2 separate regions of the Homo sapiens genome follow, and region 2 is linked to region 1. The links are contacts of gene promoters, found by promoter capture Hi-C in blood cells and fetal thymus (Javierre and others, 2016). All regions are on one chromosome and are shown on one strand. Each heading gives the region's core, a stretch centred on a gene start or on the middle of the fragment in contact. The rest is flanking DNA. Distances are from core to core; before and after follow the strand shown.

Region 1 (6,773 bases), core at 97-2,596:
TAAATATTGGCTACAATGATGTGGCAAGAAGGGGGGATTATGTGTTCCCCAAAGCGGTGGGAAAAGAAGGAGAAGAAAGCTGGAGTATAGGAGAAAACAATGGCACAAATGTGGGCAGTGCAGGTATTAAAGGCCTTCTGCCGAGCATCTGCTGAGGAGAGGCTGACCACTGCCCGGAGAATCATGGTATAGGAGTTGGTGATACACAGTATGTCAAAGCCCCAAATCAGGAGGGCAACCATCAGACCATAGATGGCATTGACCTTGACATTACCACAGGACAATTTGGCTACAGACATGTGGTCACAGTAGGTATGGGGAAGTATATTGCCTCTGCAGTAGGGCAGGAGCTTGGTGAGGAAAGTAAAGGGAATAATGAGTAATACCCCTCTCAGGAAGGTGGCAGTCCCAACCTTTGCAATTACAGGATTGGTGAGGATAGTTGAATAGCGTAAGGGGTAGCAGATGGCCACATAGCGATCCAGGGCCATAAGCATAAGCACCCCAGACTCCATCCCTGTGAAGGTGTGGGTGAAGAACATCTGGACAAGGCATTCATCAAATCCAATGTCCTTGAGATGAAACCAGAAGATGCAGAGGGCTTTAGGGATTGTACTAGAGCACATAACAAGGTCAGTAAAGGAAAGCATGGCCAAGAAGTAGTACATGGGTTTGTGCAGGGCATCCTCATAGTGAATGAGGTAGAGGAGTCCACAATTCCCTACCATAGCCACAACATACATAGAGCAGAATGGGAAGGAAATCCAGAGTTGTGTGTCTTCCAGTCCTGGGACTCCATTCAGAATAAATGAAGCTGGTATTAGGTCTGTTTTATTCAGTGTTAGCATGATAAGTCTGGTAGGTTATGAAATAGCTCAAAATTTGTCTGGGCTTTCCTAGAGTTAAAAAAAAAAACAAGAGAAAATATAGGTTATTTTTACTGTCTCCCTCTCCCCCAACTTTTAAAAATTCCATAATGCATTTTAATGGTCCAACAACCAAATTTCTGAGTGCCAAGAAATAATTTTGTTTGTCTGTTTAGTTTTATTGATTGATTAATTAATTGATTCAGTAAAAAATTCTTATTGAGCAGTCTAAGTTTTCAACACAGATGCCAATCAAACATCAATTATTTTATAAAAAGACATATTCCCAATCTCATAGATTTATAATCAAGTATAATTCTGACTTTTCAAATGGTATTTTTATTAGAATATCTTACTTAACTATAACTATACTCATCTCAATATAGATATAATTTTAAAGAAGAGTCATTTGATTACCTCACTGATGATCTGAGAGATGAGATGTTGACTTTTTAATTTTTATTCTTAATGACTGACTGATATTTATTCTTGGGTACTCAGGCACTGTTCAAAGAATTTTGAAATTTTAATTAAATTATTACTCAATGAAGCTTGGGGTCTCAAAAATTAGTAAATTTATTGGGTGTCTATACTCAATAATAATTTAATTGTATATTTTAAAATAACTAAAATAATATAATTGGGTTGTCTGTAACACAAAGGATAAATGTTTGAGATGATGGATACCCCTATTTACTTTACTGGGATTTTTTTTTTTTTTTTTTTTTTTTTTTGAGGCAGAGTCTTGCTTTGTTGCCCAGGCTGGAGTGCAGTGGCGCAATCTTGGCTGCAACCTCCACCTCCCGGATTCAAGCAATTCTCCTGTCTTAGCCTCCCGAGTAGCTGCGACTACAGGCACATGCCACCACGCCCAGCTAATTTTTGTATTTTTAGCAGAGATGGGGTTTCACTATATTGGTCAGGTTGGTCTCCAACTCCTGACCTCAGGTAATCCACCCACATCAGGCTCCCAAAGTGCTGGGATTACAGGCATGAGCCACTGTGCCCGGCCCTTTAAAAGGGATTATTACACATTGTATGCTTCTATCAAAATATCTCATACACCCATAAATATATACACCTACTATGTGCCCACAAAAATTTAAAATTAAAAAAGTCAATGAAGTTTTGATTCAATTTTTTCACTTTTCAAGATATCTTTCTTGTTCTTTATGTATCTAGTCAACGCAAACTAGAAGATATCCAAATGCATACATACAGAAAATATATAAAGTACTTCAACAACATCAGTAAGAAAAAGTTGCAGGAAGAAACATACACTTCAAAAGAGAAATAAAATTGCCAATGAACAGGTAAATAGGCACAAACTTTTATATTAATCAGAAAAATAAGTAAAAATTGTATCTCTCATGACAAAGCACCTTTTTTTGGTATGTAGTGACATACCAAACAGGACAGCTAAAATGAAAAGAACTAAAAATACCAAGCATTGGCAAAGATGTAGAACAACTGGAACTCTCATTTACTGCTGGTAGACATGTAAATTAGAACAACTCTTTATTAGATATCTCATAATGATAAACATACACATGACCACCATTGCCATTTCCAACAAAACTATGTATATATATTTACTAGAATACATCAATTAGAATGCTTATTGAAACATGATTTGTAGTATAGCCTAAAACTGGAAAAAACCTAAATGTTCATCAACATCAAATGGGTAAATAAATTTTGGTACATTCCCACAATGAAATACCACGTAACAATAAGAATAAACAATCTATGACTATATGCATAATATAGACGAATCTCACAATATGTGTTAATTTTTTTTAGAAAGACTTAAAATAGATGTAACATCTTGTGATCTTTAAATGAAATACAAAAACGGATCAAATTATTCTGTGCTATTAGAAATAGAAAAATCTTTTTAAAAAGTGAGAGAGAGTGATAACTGAAAGGCAGTATGTGGTAGAAGGGTCCTGTTAGTTGCTGGTCATATTCCCTTACTTGATTTGGTTGTGAGATATACAAGATTCAGGTTGTAAAAATCAATCAACATGTAATTGGATTAATTGTAAAATTGCATATGTATGTTAGAATTTATAATAACAAAAATTAAATTGCCAAGAGGATTAAAGGACGTAATATGTTAAAACATGCTACCACATTTTAAGTGCTCAATACCCATATTTGTATTTTCTACTCAGGCTGGCAGCCATTTTGGCAATGCTTACAAAAATTAACACCATAGGAATCATGAGTGCCACCAAATGAACTCTCTTTTGTGCCCCATCAGAGGAGGTATTCATCCTAACCTCCATTAATAAAATACACTGTTTTAAGATTAGCATCTGATAGGAAGTACAGTCACATGTTCTGCCTTATTGGGTAAGATGAAGAGGACAGATCAGATTTATCAAAAGGCAACTTGTTTTGAAAATAGTAGAAAAACACAGGTTAAACTTGTTAATAGGCATGCTCCTCAAAGATATGTACTCAAGTCATTACAAAATGTCAGAGTTATACTGGGTGTCATAGGAGCACCTGTGTGTCTAACCTAGCCTCAGGAGATGCTCCTAGAGAAGAGGACAGATGCTTCCAGACCTGGAGCATGATTAGAATTCTGACAGGTCAAAGTGGTAGGAACAGCATTTTCTTCTGTTGCTGTTTGCTGTTTCCTACTCATATCGCACTGACATTCTCAGCTTTGTGATAGGCAAACCTCTATCTCCTTGGTGCTCCCTTTGCCCACTCCCCTCAAATGTAGCTAATCCCTATACATTCTTCAAGCAGAACCATCATCAGGAGGTCTCAAATGTCCTTTGGACATGATAGCGACCCATCCTTTAAATTATTTTAAGATAATGTAGCTACCAATAGCCTTGACTAGGGGTAAGAAATTGATTTGTTCAAACAATTATTCTCTTTAATAATATTTCCCTCATGATATTATGAAAATCAACTTATATTTAGGAATTCTCCAAAATTCAGTGAAATCACCGATGTAAGGACAGTGTCTGGTAAAGCATCCTCAGAGCCGAGCAAATCAAATCTCTCATATTAGATACTCAATAAATGTCAATTTTAAAATAAATAAACAAATAAGTAAATGAAAAAGTGAATGACTCACCCGAAACACTTTATTTTGATAATTATTAAATTATAATCTAAGTATTATTAGATTGGTGCAAACATAATTGCGGTTTTTACCATTAAAAGTAATGGCAAAGCCACAATTCCTTTTGCACCAACCTAATATTACTTGGAATGTATAAAAGAAACCACTAGAAGGAAAAAAAAGAGAAAGTTTTACTTAAGATTACTAGAAAAGCTAAACAACATAAGGCATCTCTCTCATAAAGTAGAGAAACAGAGAATACAAAGTGGAAAAAAAAAGATGACAAAGGCAGAACAAACATTGGTTTTGGATATAAAAATAATTTAAACTTCCCATCAAGTTGAAATAATTCCAACTAATTTTTAAAAATTATATATGCAGTATAAGATTTCATCAGAATGAAAATTATACACAAAGGTTTAAAAATATATACAAACATAATATTTTTAGATAAACAGTATACCTCATACTTAGGATATACTAATACTAGAAAAAAGAATTCAAAGCTAAAACACTCAAGTCAAGATCACTTTGAGAAGACAAAACGCTTAGCATTGTGTAATTAAAGGTAATTGTACCAAATTGTTTTTTTTCCAAGTTTGATAAGGTTTTTCTATAACACAAATAACGAAAAGCACTTAAATTCACATTCTCACTTTGTTGATATGGAGGGACAATGTTAATATGAGGACCTCCCAAAGTTACACTTACATTACATAGCAGCTTATAAACTCATTTTTAAATTTTTAATTAAGGTAAGTGAATGGTTCAAAAATTGAAATTTTAGCTTTGGAATTTTCAGAAGTATGTTAATTATTATTTTGTAAAAGCATAAAAGATAGTCTTCAATACATGAAATGTTTTTCTATGAACATCAAAATTACAGGATTCTGCCTTTCAGACAGAATTTATAAACTATGAATTTATATTTTATATTTGTAGTCACTATTATATTTTTCAGATTTTTTACATATACCTCATTTTTCAGATGTTTTACAATATATTATTAAGCAAAATAACTGACAGTGACAGTGGCAATAATCCATTTATAAAACTACTTTTTCAATAATTTATAAAAATTTAGTATAAACTATTCAATAGTGTCACGATTCTTTTCTCCATCTCACTTTAATATATTGAACAGTGTCTTATTAAATGTGATGCTCAGTGCTTGTTTTGGGCTATACATTGCTTTGTAAATAGCAGCTCAGGATGCACTTTTGCAGCTTTTCTTGGAGTTAAAGTGACCATTTCAAGTAATGGAAAATGCTATTTTTAATGTCTTAATGAATTATGTGTGGAAAGAACAATTACCTGGGTGGAGAAAAATATACTTGTAGATCTGTATTGAACCTGCACATATCCAAGTATGTGTTCATGGTTCCACTGCATGTGAAATAAGTATCCATGTGTTAGAAGTAGGTAGAGAAATTAGGGGAAGCATAAATATCTCCTAAACCGAAAATAGAATAATTTGCTTCTGAGATTACATGCACACTTGTATCTAAATACTAGATAAATATTTTATTAGTATTTCCTATATTTTCTTGTTTTCGGCATACCTTTAGTCACTAAAACTGGTTTTATGCTTACACAACAATTTAGGTCCCATCTTCAACACATTTACAAAGCTCTCCAAGAACTACATAACTATCTAAGTATTATTAATAAGTACAAACGTATGCAATTTTCTTCCTAAAACATTTAAAATAGTTTGTACACATCAAAGTTTAATTTCTTCTGCAAAGAAATTTGACTTTGCTATGCTGGGGTGTGGAAAGAGTCATTGGAAAAGTAATATTGATACATGTTATCTTCTATCTAACCTCATTCTTAAACTCTGTAGGCCAATAAATTTGTTTTGTTTTGTTTTGTTTTCGTTCAACCATCTCCAATCTAGTAGACCCAACTTCTCATATGAGGGTTGCTTGCTCCGTGTGGATTAGATTTTGCTACTGCAAACACATGAAACAAAAGTCCTATCTCAGTCTTTCCAGGAAATAACCAAGGAAAATTAGACTATGGTTTGGGGGAAGTAAAGGAGAGCAAGTAAGAAGCAAGAGTAATGGGTAAATATTCTCTAGCTAGTCTTTCATTTCTCCTTATTGTGGGGGTAATCCACACTTGACTTCCACCACTAGTAAAAAAGGATTCCCATTTAAACAGAGAAATACACAGATAATCATAATCATTATAATTCACACTGAATTTTAATGCTTGATTTGGGAAAATAAATGTTTTCCAAAAGAACTCAACCTCACACAATGCTTCTTCCTTCCAACTATGTGATTGGAATCAATGACTTAGCTGGATAAATGATAAACAACTGAGATATACCCAAAGCTCCTCTTCACTTTATCTTGCTGACTACAGAAAATAAATTTTGTCACTATCCCCTCTTTTGCATATTTTTAGTACCTTCGTTTCTGGATAGCAGAACAGTGATCTGTAAACGCAATCTACTCCAGGTGTTAACAATCTTGGTCAAAAAAAATTCACAATCCTAGAATTAATATATGTATCCACAGCTATCAGCCTATAAATTCCTTTATGTCTGAACTATTGAACTGAGCCTTAAAAAAAATACATGTTATGTGTCCCAAGGGGATATTTAAGAATCTCAGAGACACAGATGTTGGTGTGAGAATCAAGATAACCTCTATGGGAAGAGGAGAAAGAACAAGAACTTTCCATTCTCAGTGTCCAAATAATGATACGTATATAAGCAAATAATCCCATATGTGTGTGTTTGTGTATTAGAGTGTATATATGAGTCAGGGAGAGAATGAAAATGAACACAAGTTATTTTAGTAAAGACT
Region 2 (6,773 bases), core at 1,201-3,700, 1.1 Mb after region 1:
GGCAGTGAGAAGAGCCATATTTTGACGTAGTGTGCCAGTGTGTGTATTGGTGCTTTAACCAGTACACACACTAGTTTCATTTTCATGTACTAAGCTCTGGCACAGAATTTACATGGTACCACTATAGTAACTTTATTTTTCTTATAAGAGTAACATTCTTTCAACCATAAGAATAAAAATATGTGACTATTCCCAAATAGTTTCTGAGACTAATGGGAAAAGAGTCACAGCCCTACAATTTGCCCAACTTGGTAGAGAAAGTGTTTTCAAAGGTCTCAAGAAGTTTCCTGTGCGGAAACACAACAATAAAATACCTTTATGTGCAAGGAATAAGCATGCACAAGTGACAACCTGTTAACATTCAGTTTGGCACATCAGCATGCATGCAGGCTTTTGGGTGTAGATGACTCAAATTGAAAGTAGTGGTGAATGGATAGTCATGTGAAGACTGTTTAGAAAATGAGTTTTGAAAACTGAGAGGGTGTCAGATAGCCGAGGCTTTGAATACTACTTGTGCCATTTATAACTGAGAAACTTAGGTAAGTTACTTACACTCTAATTTTTGGTTTAAACATGGTTTAAGACATAAATCAAACTAATAATGGATTCTTCTACTGAATTTATTATTGTAGAGTTGTGTAAGTCAAAAGTTGACATGGATCTCACTGAGCTAAAATCAAGGAATCACCAGGCTGCATTTCTTTATGGAGGGGCTAGGGAAAAATCAATTATCTTCTTTTCTCCTTCTGGAGGCTTTCCACATTCCTTGGCTTGTAGCCTCCTTCTGCCATCTTCAAAGCCAGCAACAGTGGATCAAATCCTTCTCATGCTGCCATCTCTCTGGTTCTCTACTTTTAAAGACCCGTGTGACTATATTGGATCCACCCAGCTAATCCATCTAATCTTGCCATCTCAAGTTATTTAACTTTAATCACATCTGCAAAGTCCCTTTGCAATGTAAGGTGACATATTCACAGGTTCCAGGCATTAAGACATAGGTATCTTTAGGGGCCATTATCCTGTCTACCACAAACACTTGGCCTAGTATCATGGATGTAGAATGCATAATAAAATATTATTGTTCTTGTTATTTATTGTTTTTATTACATTATGAAGAAGAAAATATCTCAGGCCATGACATTTTCAGTAGTGAAACAGATTTGATAGTGGAGAGGAGATAATATCGGAAGCAGGGAGAATGGTTAGGAAACTACTGAAGTTACCCAAGTGAGAGATAATTGTGACTTAAATAAAGGTGACATTTCTGGAGATGATAAACAGTGATCAATTTCTGATTGTATTTTTCAAAGAGATTGACATAATTTACCAATGGATTAAATGCAGGGTGTAAGAGACAGAAACTGAGAATGAATCAAAGACCCATATGCCCAAGTGTGGTCCAAATTGGTGGGAATATCTAAGGATCTAAAGAGGCCATAAGGAGAAAAGATGGACAACTTATAGCAATCTATGCATTCTATTTATTAAAGACTAATGAGAGTGATAGTAAACTGACAGAAGGTGACATCATTGGCCAAGTCAATCACCCACCTACCTGCAATTTTTCTTGGTATAATACAAGATTTTCAAAATTTGACTATAAGTAGAGAGAACCCCAAATTATTGTGACTAATTCTCTTCAACCTGGTAGGTTGGGACTTCAAAATACGAAATAGGTCAAATTATAAAAAAGTAAATGAAACCGTATTTTATACACAAGTAAGTTGTGAACCAAGATTTTTACCTACTGTATTCACCAAGCATTTGGTTCATGCCTCTAGGATAACCTTATCATTGGTTAACATGTAATTATTGGTTAACCTGTCTATCTTCTACACTAAAATCCTAAACAGTAAGAATTATGGTGTATTCTTAAAAAAAAAAACTCTATCACTGAGTATAATGTTTAGAATATGGGACATTCTTATGAAATATTTACTGGATATATGTATGGATGAGTAAATGAATTATTTTTTATCTGTAAGAGAAAGACTGCTGCTGCAAAGAACCACAGGTGGGCTAATGAAACCATACTGCTGTGAATAATCATAGATACTGAGGAGTTAAGGGGTGGAGTTGGACTCTCACTCATAATGGGAGATGTCATTTAGCAATTTGCTACAATATTTCGTTTTTTAAAATCTCCTTCAGAGTGACTGCTAGTGATTATGAGGTTCCTTTTAAGGGTAATAAAAAATGTTCTAAAATTGAATTGTGATGATGGTTCTTGCACAGTTCTGTGACTTTACTAAAAAAAATTGAATCATACACTATAAATGGGTGAATTTTATAGTATGTGAATGATATAACAATAAAGCTGTTAAATAAAAAAGCTTTTGAGTGAAATGACACATGAAAAAAAGGTTACATCAGCCCATAAAGCACATAGCCACCGTAAGTAATTGCATAATGGAACAGATATAAAAGGACTGTATGAGGCAAAAGAAGTCTTCTGGGAATCTCCACACCCTGAAGACACAGTGAGTTAGCACCACCACCAGGAATTGGCCTTTCAGCTCTGTGCCTGTCTCCAGTCAGGCTGGAATAAGTCTCCTCATATTTGCAAGCTCGGCCCTCCCCTGGAATCTAAAGCCTCCTCAGCCTTCTGAGTCAGCCTGAAAGGAACAGGCCGAACTGCTGTATGGGCTCTGTAAGTAAAACTGTTTTGTTCAATGAAAATGCTTGACTCTAGATGAATTGGACTTTCTCACCCACAGGGAGTAATTTCCTCACAATGTGCAGAATTAGATTAGATGTTGGTATGGTGGGCTGAGGAGGACGGTAGAATTTCAGAATTATTTATTCCCAGGAAATACGTAGAGAATGGGTATTTCGTTCTGCCTGATATAGGTTAGATAACTTGTTTTTAGTCAAATGGTTTAATCAGTGTGCTGATATATTTATCACAGTCAGTGAATCTCATTTCTATGCCCAATAACTATTACTAAAAATGAAAAGTTACCAATTTCGAACGCATTGCCTGCCAGCTACTGGTATTAGACACAGCGCATATCCTGTCTTATAGATGAGGAAACTGGGTCACAGAAAGTTTATATTACTTGTAGATTTCAGTAAAACAATTGTTTTTGAGAGCACGAGCTTTGGAATTAAAAAGACCTGAGTTAAAAATTCAGCTCTGACTTTCACCAGTTGTATGTGATTTCAAATATGTTTCAGACTTCTGATACTCAGTGTCTTTACCAGAAAAATGAATTTAAAGTGAATCTAATAATACTTGTCACATGATGACATAGTAAGAATTAAAATAATGCTTATAAAGCACTGAGGACAATAATGTTCACAGAACACGTGTCCAGTAAATGGTAGCTATTTCTATGAGTAATATTTTTATTAATGGTGTAGATGGTCTCAAAACTAGTTAGTGTTTGAGCAAGAATCTGAACCCAGGTCAGTCACACATGATAGCCATACCATTGACAATAGCATGGAGAATACTGATGACACTATAAGGTCTAGTTCAGCAGATTAAGACAGCCACAAGCTATAGCTTATAATAGTGCAATGAAAGAGGAGCATCATTGTAATCCGAGTGGGCAGAAAAATTAGTTGAGAGAATATAGCTTATTTCACAAGAGAGAAAATGAAAGTATATATGGATTGGAGAGGATGGGTCGGAAAGATTCTAGAGTGAAGGCAGCACAAAAGAGAAGCTTGGGGGAAATTTAGTGCCTCCTTCTAAGGATATTCATTAGTCCCCCTCTTGTCTTGAATATAAACACTTAAGATTTTTTCAATGTAAGAAAAATGCAATGAAATAATAGCTGCAAATACCCACTACTAACAATTGCTTGGCCTTCTTATATAGACCTCCCGAGGTTCTCATCTTTTACATTTCAGGAGTAGAATCAGTTAAAAACTAATCTTTATATGTAAGGGATGAGAGAGAGAAAGAGGAGGGTATGTGTGTGCACACATGTGTGTGTGTGTGGTGGGTAGTAATTTTAATTCAATGATTTACTAGAGTTCGATGTCGTTTGCTGATAAATGAAGCAGGAGGAAGAGCCAGGTTTGGAGGGGACGAGAGAATGAGTTCCATTTGTCTCATATAGAAGTTGAAGTAACTGAGTGATGATGGGTAGAGATGTCCCTCAGGGGTAGCCACAGTATTTTATTTACTTTTTATTCACCACATGCAGCAAGGAGCTTTGTTCTCCAAAATGCTGTCAATTATTTTTCTAAATTACAGGTTTGATTGCTTCACTGTATTTTCATGTCTCATTACTACCTTTACGCTTAAAACCAGAAACTTTGCCACAGCGTTAAAGATTCTGCTAACTTTTAAAATACAGAACTCTGGAGATGCCATAATTAGATTGCAGATTTATGAGTCTTCTGGATATAAGTGCTATTTAAAGCCATGAGAATAACCAAGATATCTCAAGGAGAGCATATGAAAAGCAAGAAAAGAAGAGGTACTTCTTGGGAGAAAAGCAGACTCCTCTAGAATCCCACAATTTATAAGGCAGAGAACAAAACCATTGTTTAACAAACAGGAAAAAAAAAAACCTCACAGAATAACCATCACTGAAGCTAATGAAGGAGAAAGTTTCAAGGAGGAGGAGGTAAACATTGCTGAAAGTTGAGATGAGGGAGAGAAAAACAAATCTGAGATTAAACTTTTGGACTTGGCATGTAGAAAATCACGGGTGACATCATTTGGAGGATTTTCAGAGTCATTAGGGAAAGAATTCAGATTGTTACTGAAGGTGAAGGAATAATAAACAAAAGCAGACTGTTCTCCAAAGGAATTTTTATCCTTATAAAAGATACAGCAGGAAATTGAGAGAGAAACAGGGCTTATGTCTTGTATCCCTCACTATCAAAGCACAAGGCTAATTATGAAAACTATTCAATATATCCTGGTTGAAATGAATTGTTTGGAAATATCTATACAAAACTGTGGGAAGCTTTTATTGTTGAGTTAGAGTAAAACTTGAGTATTGCAGACTTCAAAAAAGCAACCAATGGCACTAAACAAGATACTAAAGAGGGAAAGGAATTTTGTTGGCATTAAATGAGAAGAGATGGAAAATGATTTATTTATTAAAAGCAAAGCTCCTTGCTTCCAGTGGTCAATAAAAGGTGAATAAAATGTTAGAAATGTCTGGCTCTTGATGCTCTGCAAAAATTTAAGTTCATTACACTGTCCATGGAATTCAAGATTTTCATGATTTGACCTCTGGTGCTTTCTCTAGCTTCATTTCCCACAGCACCTAGCCTCACATTTAAGACTTCGATATACCCCTTCTCTTGTAGTTATCCAACAAACTGGCTTATGTTATTCTTTCATTCATGTCTCTCCTCATTTTATCAACGGCACTGCAAAAGCACACTTCCCCTGTTTTTCATCCTTATAAACTCACATTTACCCATCAAAACTTCACACAGTTATAAAGCATACATTCTGTTAACATTCTTGGAACTAGTTCTTCTTGACACACACAGACACATTCATGTATGCACACACTCCAAATCTGCCACTCCACACTATTATCTCTTCTGCCTTATCAATTAGATACATCCTATCCTTATACACTCTACAACTAGTAGCATTTATCTGTTTGTTTCTGTTACTGCTGATAGACGCTGTCTGGCATGTAGTAGATATTTAAAATTAGTCATTTTTTATTTTCAGTAAGAGTCCCTAGACTCTTGACACAGCAAGCTCAGCTCCCTGCATATGTGTGTGTGTGTGTGTGTGTGTGTATATATATATGTATGTGTGTGTGTATATATATATACGTATATATGTGTGTGTGTATATATATATATGTGTGTGTATATATATATATACACGTATATATATGTATAGTTTAGTTCAGTTTGAACTGAACTAAGTGTTTCTGGTTGATAGGAGCTAAAGTGGAGTTATTGGCTAGGAAAAAGAATAAGGTACCCTCTGTCTCTGAGCCCAGCGTGAACGTAGGAAGGATGCAGGAAGATATGCTTGTAAAGTGATGGAAAGGAGAGAAGTCATTTTTTTTTTGCTAGGCCCAACACAGATCAGGTCAAAATATATACACTATGGTTTTCTTTTGTTTTGTTTATGATCTCTTGGCAAGAAGGAGGAAAAAAACTACCAAGAAGAATGAAAATAGGCAATGAATAAATTGTTGAAATGAGGTAATGGGAGATATGAAGAAGTTAGGATGAAAGAGAAATTATTCAAATAGCAATTTAATTTTTTTAAGTGGTTACATAAAATGTCCTACAACACAATGACAAAAATTACAACTCAGATATTGCGTAGGAACTAAAAATCATGAAAGCCAGAATTAATTGACATAAATGGAGCCCCTCTGTACTTTCATAACCATTTTTATTATTCATCGCTGTATATGAGATATTGAAATTATTGAAAAACGGTTCTGCTCTTTCTGCCTCACTGGATTATAAACTCTCTAAGTGGGGTTTTATTTGTGTTGTCCTTTAGCTTCTAAAATAGCACTATGTAAGATCCAGATACTCAGTTAATGTCCCTGAGATAGTAAAGCAAGATCAAGAGAAGTGTTACAAGTGCACTGTTGCTCAACAGTTTTTTGTTTGTTTGTTTGTTTTTTGAAACGGAGTCTCGCTCTGTCGCCCAGGTTGGAGTGCAATGGCGCCATCTCGGTTCACCTGGAAGCTCCGCCTTCCAGGTTCACTCCATTCTCCTGCCTCAGCCTCCCCAGTAGCTGGAACTACAGGCGCCCGCCACCACGCCCGGCTAATTTTTTGTATTTTTAGTAGAGACGAGGTTTCACCATGTTAGC

Evidence for each region. The method cuts DNA at HindIII sites, captures the fragments that hold promoters and counts their contacts. A CHiCAGO score of 5 or more calls a contact.
Region 2: a contact is called between the fragment with the promoter of OR51E2 here and the fragment with the promoter of OR52N4 in region 1, in 1 of 17 cell types (M0 macrophages). The highest score is 5.6, in M0 macrophages.

What each region holds. Positions count from the first base shown.
Region 1 is chr11:5,748,816-5,755,588 of GRCh38, reverse strand. It overlaps OR52N4 (olfactory receptor family 52 subfamily N member 4), which reads right to left and starts at 1,346. Exons shown (of 2, transcript NM_001005175.5): 1 at 1,284-1,346; 2 at 1-896. The coding sequence starts at 848. The HindIII fragment of the contact is 4,248 bases long and covers 1-1,419 here.
Region 2 is chr11:4,693,530-4,700,302 of GRCh38, reverse strand. OR51E2 (olfactory receptor family 51 subfamily E member 2) reads left to right here and starts at 2,450. Exons shown (of 2, transcript NM_030774.4): 1 at 2,450-2,650. It overlaps OR51C1 (olfactory receptor family 51 subfamily C member 1), which reads left to right and starts at 2,450. Exons shown (of 2, transcript NM_001396051.1): 1 at 2,450-2,650. The coding sequence starts at 2,642. The HindIII fragment of the contact is 1,338 bases long and covers 2,336-3,673 here.